Regions from separate parts of the Homo sapiens genome. Here all the other regions are linked to region 2. Evidence: promoter capture Hi-C in 16 types of primary human blood cells and fetal thymus (Javierre and others, 2016). All regions are on one chromosome and are shown on one strand. Each heading gives the region's core, a stretch centred on a gene start or on the middle of the fragment in contact. The rest is flanking DNA. Distances are from core to core; before and after follow the strand shown. Region 1 overlaps DDI2 (DDI proteasomal shuttling factor 2). Region 2 holds the start of FBLIM1 (filamin binding LIM protein 1). Region 3 overlaps DDI2 (DDI proteasomal shuttling factor 2).

Region 1 (2,788 bases), core at 183-2,682, 95 kb before region 2:
GCCATGAGAAATCCCACTACCCATCCAGCTAAAAACAGATGAACTCTCCACACTGTGACTGTGTGTCTGTGCTGATGGCAAGGTATGGTTTGCTGGCTCAGTTGTCAATTTAGAAACTTTTGACCACATAATTTGGTGTTTGGAATTCTACCCAGTGCTCTGTGTATCATGATTCATTAATTATAACAGGAAATTGGAGAATAATTGAATATCTTATCGTAGAGTGGTATGTTTTTATTTGTGTGCTTAGGATTTGACATTTTAATAGGGCGAGCAGGAGGGTTTAAATCTTGGGCTACTTTGTGCATCACAGGCTGCTGCATGGATTGCCATGAATCCTTATTACATTGGATGGGATATTGTGGGGGAGTTACAATGCAAGTGAAACGTGGTGCTACCCAGATTCTTAAAAGAACAGAACAACCATAATTCCATTTGCAGATGTCAAGAACTGTGAGGGAAAAATAATGGCCTAAACACTGGAATTTGCTAGAGTTTGGGTTTGCTAGCATCTCACTGATAACACCTCAACCCTTAATGACTAATGGTGGAATTAAGTTCAGGAATGGATTCATTGCCAGCAGCTTATTTCCTTTCTAGACTCTTCTGCCAGGAAGTTCTTCAAACGCTCAGTGTGAGCTGTGATCTGAGTGAAATACTAAGTGTGATAACCTTGTCACTGGTTAATCTTGGTGCTTGGAACGGTCAGTCTATTTGGAGAGTGTCCTTTGTGGCAGTGGAAATAGTAATTACAGTTTCTGACTTAAGTGGCCTTGGTAGAGTTTTCCATCCTTTTCTTTCCTCAGGAGTTTCTTTTTTAAGCAAAATTCATCTTATTTGTGTTTACCATGTCAAGTTAGAGTGGGGCATAATATATAGATGTATTTATTGTGGCCTTTTTTTATATAAGGACTAGCCCTTGGAAATCATTGTCCTGTGGGCCCCACTGTGCAATAATCCTACTGGATAGGTTTTAGATAATTCTTTCCTGGCAAACTGCTCTTTTGGGTACCTAGCAGGAATCTGAAGTCTTGGTTTTATTGAAAAGAATTTTGAGATTCATAATTTCTGATTCTAGATTATAGTTTGTAACATGTTTGAAACAGAAGCTTCGAAAGAGTGATTTCTCAACTTAGTGTTAAATGATTTTGTCTGAAGTCTGACTCTTTGTAAGCTTGTTTGTTTCATCAAATTTTAAGTCATTGAGCACAATCAAAATGGAGGCTCATATCTCAGGAGTTTTTGAAATTTTAATTTAGGGGCACTTAGAGACATTTTTTTCTACCCCATCCAACTTCTTTCTTTCCTTTTGCTATGATGTTTGTATGTATGTTATAAGACTTTAGTGATGGGATGGCGTGTCACGTAGATTCATCATGATCCTTTATGTAGTTAGGAAATGGTTGACAGAAGGAATTGTAGTTTACTGCTTTTCAGAGGGCGTGAAGAACAACAGGTCAGCCAGGTTGTCTTTAAGATGTTCTTTTAGACAGCTGCACATTGTAGACCCTTTCACCTGCCCTACACCAAAGATGTACGATGCACTAGGAAACTGCTCATAGGATTTCTGTCAGCTGACTTAAAGCTGTGATTGTAATTAAATAGTTGGTGCTATGATTGATGCAAAATCTAGTAGCAATGCAATGGGACCCTGTATTTGCTTTATGGGTGGTGGTTTGGGAATGTATTCTAAGCTTATAAATCTTTGGAACCACGGGGTGGGAAGGGTGGGGGAACTTACTGATGACAATAGACTCCCTCCTAAAGGGCCTTCCATGTAAGCAGAACGAACCTTGGCACACAATTCAGTGTGGATATTTGGGAAACAGTTCCAAGTGGAATATATAATATCAGTCGGGAAAAGATTTCATTAGGATAGCTTTTTGTGTATGTATATGTATATTTATTTTTAGGAATAGATCTATAGTTGTACATGAATTCCTGTTAGGAATACTCTGAATGAGCTTAACCCACTTGCCAAATATCCTTGTCCCTTCCATCATTTTATTTTTGAGATGGGGTCTTGCAGTGTTGCCCAGGCTGGACTCAAACTCTGGGGCTTAATCATCCTTCTGAGTAGCTGGGACTACATAAAGGCCAAAGTATAATTGCTTTTGATTTTTAAAATCTTCTTGCCCATCATTTTTATAAAAATAAAGCTGTTTGTCCAACACGGTGAAACCTCATCTCTACTAAAAATACAAAAAATTAGCTGGGCATGGTGGCACACGCCTGTAATCCCAGCTACTTGGGAGACTGAGGCAGGAGAATTGCTTGAACCTGGGAGATGGGGGTTGCAGTGAGCCTAGATCACGCCACTGCACTCCAGTGTGGGCGGCAGAGTGAGACTCTGTCTCACCCAAAAAAAAAAAAAAAAAGCTATTGACACTGTTAATATTTTGGATGACTTAAATTTAGCAGCTCTAGAATGCAAAGGGTATATTAAGGAGCATTACAATAGTGAACCTTCATCGTCAGCTTTTATTCAATTAAGAGCTCCAGAAATGCAGAAATTATGGGTTAACTTCTAAGAATACCATCAAATCCCTGTGAATTCTGGTTGCCAACAGTAATAACCAGTAATGGGCACCTTTACCGGACAGCTCCTTTACCATAACCAGTAGTGGGCAGTTCTGCGGTCAGCACTTAACTACAAGGGCGGTCTCTGTTTCTTCACCAGAGAGAGAAGATTTTCCTGTGTAATTTGTGCCATTTCCCTGAAGTTGGTTCTTGAGCGGAAAGATGTGCTTGGTAACCAGACAGCAGCTTTACATAGGTTATAGATTTT
Region 2 (2,700 bases), core at 91-2,590:
CAATGGCAGCTCCTGGGACTGCTGCTGTTACTGCAGCTTGGCTGAGAGGATCAAATGGGAAAAGGGGCGACAAGAGGGATGGGAGGGGCGATGATCAGTGGGTGAGGGCGGAGGCAGCCTCCTCTGACCCTCATAAACCAGCCTCCCTCAGAAACAGCCCCAGAGCCACCCTGGAGGGGTGACTGTAGCTGAGGGGTTGCAGGACGGGCCAGATCCTGTCTGGCCACCCCGCAGATGGCGCTGGGTCCAGCGCTCCTCAAGCCTCAGCCACTGTGGCTTTAATCAAAAGAACAATCTGTCTGCCTCTGAATCAGACCCAGATTCCTTTCCCCACAATGTCCCTGAGGCCTCCAGGGACCCAGGCAGTCCATCCCGGCCCCATCCCGGGCCCCAGAGTCCAGGCTCTGCCTCCCCTCCCGCTCCCGTCCTAATTGCTCCAGCTGGGAGGGGGAGGGTCACTGGATGTGGAGGGAGGGGTTCAGCCACAGGGCCAGCCGGGCCCTGCCTTCCAGAGCTCCTGGAGCGGCCTGTCCCCCGGGACACCGGGACCCACCTGCAGAGGGCTTACCGCTCAGGAGAGCAGAACAAGGTGACCTGCTCCACTGGGGGTCTCCGAGACCCCCACCCTCAGGAACACTCCCGGAAAAAGCCCCCAACCCAGCATATATTAACCACTATTAATCACAGTCCTGGCTGTAACTGTCACCTTTTATCCTCAGGCCAACCTGGAGAGGTAGGCAGTGGCTACCTCCACTTTACAGATGAAGACACTGAGGCTCAGGAGGTGGCGTGACTGCTCCGGGTCTCACGCTTAGTAAACGGCCGCAGAACCCTGGTCGGTTTGACGCAAGACCCTGGCGGATCCCAGAGCCAAAGTAAGCGCTCACCTCCGCCGGACAGGGTAGGTGGGGTTGCCAACCCAGGAGAGCGAGGGAAGGGGGACGGCAGGGACCACTCGGGGTCCATGAAGAACGCGAGGGGATGGGCAGCGGGGAGGGAAGGAAACCCACCCCGACTCCCCATTCTCCTACCCCCACTCCCCATCCCTCCCATTCCCCCATCGCCCCCATCCCCATTCCCCCCCATTCCCACCCCCTGGCCTGTGCCAAGGGGGAGGGGAGGCGTCGTCCAGGGAACAAAGGGAGGGGGAAGGGGCGGCGCGGGGCGCGGCCGGGCAGGTTGGGGGGCAGGTAGGGGCCGCTTCCGCGGGGCGGGAATCCCGCGCCCCCTCCCCCCGAGCCTCACCTTTTATGGTAAAGCGGCGCGGGGCGGCGGGGCGGAGGGAGCCGAGGGGGCGGGGAGGGCGGACGGGCGGAGGGGACGGGAGGCCCAGCGGCTCCGGGCTCCGCTGGCTCGGGCGTCGGATCGGAGCCGCCGGGGCGCGGGCGGCCCAGGTAAGCGGGCCGGGTGGGTGGGGGTCGCGTCCCTCCGTCCCTGTCCCCGGTGCACACAGGTGACAGCGCCGGCAGTGCTCGGCCGGAGCCTGCTCGGTCGCCAGCCGGGACCCCCGGCGCGGCGCCCCTGGAGGGGCCTGCGGGTGGGGGGTGCGGTCCTCACGCCCTTTGCGTCCCAGTCTCTTGGTCTCTCTCCCCGGAGTCGGGGAGTCGGCAGGTCCGGGGCGAGGGCTCAGTGAGGCCGGCGGAGGGCCGAGTCCCAGCCCGGGAGCGGGAGCCGGGGACCCGGCGCGCAGGGCGGAAGCTCCCGCACAAAAGGCCGGAGTCCCGCACATGGATCGAATTAAAGCTCCGGCGGCGCCCAGCGGTGACCCCGGCGGCCGCCCTGCTCGGCTGCCTGCGGAGGGTCCCGCGTTTCCGGAGCCCGGGGGCGCTCCAGGCCCCTTTTCCTAGCCAGGGTCAGGCAAGGGGAGGGACGGGTCCCGGGGCTGCTCCTCTCTGGGCCTCACGCGCCCGTCGGGGGCTGAGAAGGTGTGGAGATGGGCGATACCCAGGTGTGTGCCCTGGGATGATCTTGGCGTCGGCCCCTACCCCTCACCTCCCACCCAAGCCTGAGGACCCCGGGGAGAGGCTGGGGCCGCGCCCAGATTCCTGCTCTTAATGACGCTGTAGGTTCTGTCCGGGTCCTGGAGGCACCCCCAGCCGAGCCCAGCCCCCGGGCTGCTTCTCCCTCTCAGCTGCTGCCTAACCAGCTGTCCTTCTCTTTGCACCTTCCAAGGGCCTAGACCCTGAGTCTTCTTTCCTTATATATCCTCTCAGCCGCCCTAGGGACACACTCATTCTCACTTTATGAAAAAACGAGGCCAGAGAGTTTCTGTGACCTATTCGGGGTCACCCCGCAGGAAAGAAGTGGGGCCGCGTGTGAACCCAGCTCTCTACCTCCTCTGTTTCCCTGGGGTGGGAAAGAGGTTGAGGGAACCCCTCCCCTAAGTTGCAGGGTGGGAGGGGTTGGGGCACACCCCGCCACTTCTGCCTAAATTTAATTCCGTACCCAAAGGTAGACTGCTTTATCCGGTCATTAAAGAACAAAGCTGGCCGGGAGCGGTGGCTCACGCCTGTAATCCCAGCACTTTGGGAGGCCGAGGCGGGCGGATTACCTGAAGTCAGGAGTTGGAGACCAGCCTGGCCAACGTGGTGAAACCCCGTCTCTACTAAAAATACAAAAATTAGCCGGGTGTGGTGGCGCGCGCCTGTAATCCCAGCTATTCGGCGGCTGAGGCACGAGAATCGCTTGAACCCAGGAGGC
Region 3 (2,734 bases), core at 75-2,574, 110 kb before region 2:
CTTCAACTTTGTCTTCCAACCTTTGTGTTGGATTTTGTATTTGTTTGTATTTTACTTTAGATGGTTTTCATAAATGTCTTGTGATCCTTGGCATCAGCTCACATTGAAGAGTGGGCCACTGGCTGGCCGGGATGGCTCACACCTATAATCCCAGTGCTTTAGGAGGCTCATGTGGGATGATGGCTTGAGGCCAGGAGTTTGAGACCAGCCTGGGCAACATAGGGAGAATTCGTCTCTACAAAAAATTTTTTTAAATAGCCGGGTGTGGTGGCAAGTGCCGATGGTGCCAGCTACTCGAGAGGCTAAGGCAGGAGGATTGCTTGAGCCAGGGAGATAGAGGCTGCAGTGAGCTGTGTTCATACTACTGTACTCCAGCTTGGATGACAATGAGAACTCGTCTCAAAAAAAAAAAAAAAAAGAGTGGGCCACCAAAAGGCTTGTTTGGTAAATGACCTGGGTAGGCAGCCATGGCTCTTGTGGCCTTCACTGTAGGGTGGGTCTGAAAGTTGGGAGGGAGAAAAAGGCTGGCATCTCAGTTGGATTTTATTTATTCCCCCTGGTTTTCAGTTGGATACTTGTTCTGTCCCTGTCTCCCTCCATGCTCACCTCTGTTAAGAGTGCCTCTGTTTCACCCTCTCCAGAAAATAAGCCTCTAGTCTGCTACTGGGGTGAAGGGTCTCCTGGCCTAGCAGAGTGCGGGAGGGACACCCCAAGGGCTAACTGTGCCTCTGCGGCCTTCCCGCCAGCCTTGCTGCTTTGGGTCCATCTCTCCTCCTATCTGCAGAAGTATTTATGACCAGTTCCTATGCTCCATAGGAGTTCTGTGATGTCAGTTGGGTTACTGCTCAGTTTTCCTCACTGTCATCTGCTTTTTAGCTCTAAAATTTTGTTCCTGTGGTCTCTACTATTATATTTGGCCTTAAAAATGTATGCCTTAGGGCTGGGCATGGTGGCTCATGCCTGTAATCCCAGCACTTTGGGACCCCGAGGCAGGTGGATCACCTGAGGTCAGGAGTTCGAGACCAGCCTGGCCAACATGGTGAAACCCTGTCTCTACTAAAAATACAAAAATTAGCCGGGCGTGGTGGCGGGTGCCTGTAATCCCAGCTATTCGGGAGGCTGAGGCAGGAGAATCGCTTGAACCTGGGAGGCAGAGGTTGCAGTAAGCTGAGATTGTGCCATTTCACTCCAGCCTGGGCAATAAGAGTGAAACTCCATCTCTAAAGAAAAAAAAAAATGTGTGCCTTAGACAAAACCCAAAAACCTTTTTTGCAATGTTTTAGGAGTAAATGTAGATAAATGCATGTGTTCAGTCATTCATCTCTAATCAGAATTGTTTTTGTTTTCTTCTTCCATTATCCATTTAATAGATGCTTACTGTAGAGAACTTCAAAAGTATAGAAATGTGAGATGAAGGAAAAAAACATCCCTTAAATTCCTGTAGTGAGAATCAACCACCAGTATCATTTGGGCATATCTCCTGGTCTTTTTTCTGTGCACTTTTTTATCTTATAAAAGGTGATTATTTCTGTTTAAAATTTTATATTCTGCTCAAAGAAAAAGTGAAACAACATTTTCCCAATGTCACCATGAATTTCAAAAGAATTATTTAAATAAATGAATAAATGTATAGCATTCTGTTGCAGGTTTAAGGATCAGCTTTTGGGTTGTTTCTTTTTTTCTTTTTCTTTTTTTTTTTGAAACAGAGTCTCACTCTGTTGCCCACACTGGAGTGCGGTGGCGTAATCTTGGCTCACTTCAACCTGTGCCTCCCAGGTTCAAGTGATTCTCCTGCCTCAGCCTCCCGAATAGCTGGGATTACAGGCACCTGCTACCACACCCGGGTAATTTTTGGATTTTTAGTAGAGACAGGGTTTCACCATGTTGCCCAGGCTGGTCTCGAACTCCTGAGCTCAAAGTGATTCGCCTGCCTCAGCCTCCCAAAGTGCTGGGATTACAGGCGTGAGCTGCTGCGCCTGGCTGGTGATGTTTCCTATTAGAACATGGCAGTATAGTTTTCTGCACATTTTGATTTTTTCCCCCTAGTCAAGATTCCTATAAGTGAAACTACTGAATCAAAGTTACGGATGCTTTAGGACTCTTGATATGTTGCTAACCTGTACCAATCCAGTTTATCCACCACTGAATGAATATTCATCTTAGTGTCCTATACTGTTAAGGAATATTAGTTTTCCCTCTTAAATTTACAAATAAGGTGGGTGTGGTGGCTCATGTCTGAAATCCTAGCACTTTGAGAGGCCAAGGTGGGCAGATTGCTTGAGCTCAGGAGTTTGAGACCAGCCTGGGGGCCATAGCGAAACCACATCTCTACTAAAACTACAAAAAATTAGCCGGTTGTCATGACCGTACGCCTGTAGTCCCAGCTACTCAGGAGGCTGAGGTGAGAGGATCACTTGAACCCGGGAGGCAAAGGTTGCAGTGAGCCGAGATCATGCCAGTGTACTTCAGCCTGGGCAATAGAGCAATACTCTTTTCTCAAAAAAAATTTTTTTTTACAAATAAAAGAGTGGTTTCTTATTGTAAGTTACTTTTCTTTCATTGTAAATGATAGTTTTTCTGCACATTTGCTCTTCCTTTCTTTTGAAATATGTATGTCTGTTTATTAGGGTCTTTGTGTTTCTCTTATTGATTTGTGTAGGATAAAGATAGTTCAACTACCTTACACTTTCCTAAACACAGTAGGACTAAGAGTTTTGCAGGAATACCATAAACT

What was found. Contacts are between HindIII fragments. The CHiCAGO score rates a contact against its expected background, and 5 or more counts as called.
Region 1: a fragment that was not itself captured here is called in contact with the fragment with the promoter of FBLIM1 in region 2 in 1 of 17 cell types (M1 macrophages); the score reaches 5.2 in M1 macrophages.
Region 3: a contact is called between a fragment that was not itself captured here and the fragment with the promoter of FBLIM1 in region 2, in 1 of 17 cell types (naive B cells). The highest score is 5.2, in naive B cells.

Annotation. Positions count from the first base shown.
Region 1 is chr1:15,662,074-15,664,861 of GRCh38, forward strand. It overlaps DDI2 (DDI proteasomal shuttling factor 2), which reads left to right. Exons shown (of 10, transcript NM_032341.5): 10 at 1-2,788. Among named protein-coding and RNA genes, the nearest start is that of RSC1A1, 3.8 kb to the left of the region's middle. The HindIII fragment of the contact is 520 bases long and covers 1,173-1,692 here.
Region 2 is chr1:15,757,455-15,760,154 of GRCh38, forward strand. FBLIM1 (filamin binding LIM protein 1) reads left to right here and starts at 1,341. Exons shown (of 9, transcript NM_017556.4): 1 at 1,341-1,394. The HindIII fragment of the contact is 4,964 bases long and covers 1-2,700 here.
Region 3 is chr1:15,645,467-15,648,200 of GRCh38, forward strand. The region is part of intron 6 of DDI2 (DDI proteasomal shuttling factor 2); the gene reads left to right. Among named protein-coding and RNA genes, the nearest start is that of RSC1A1, 13 kb to the right of the region's middle. The HindIII fragment of the contact is 3,164 bases long and covers 1-2,734 here.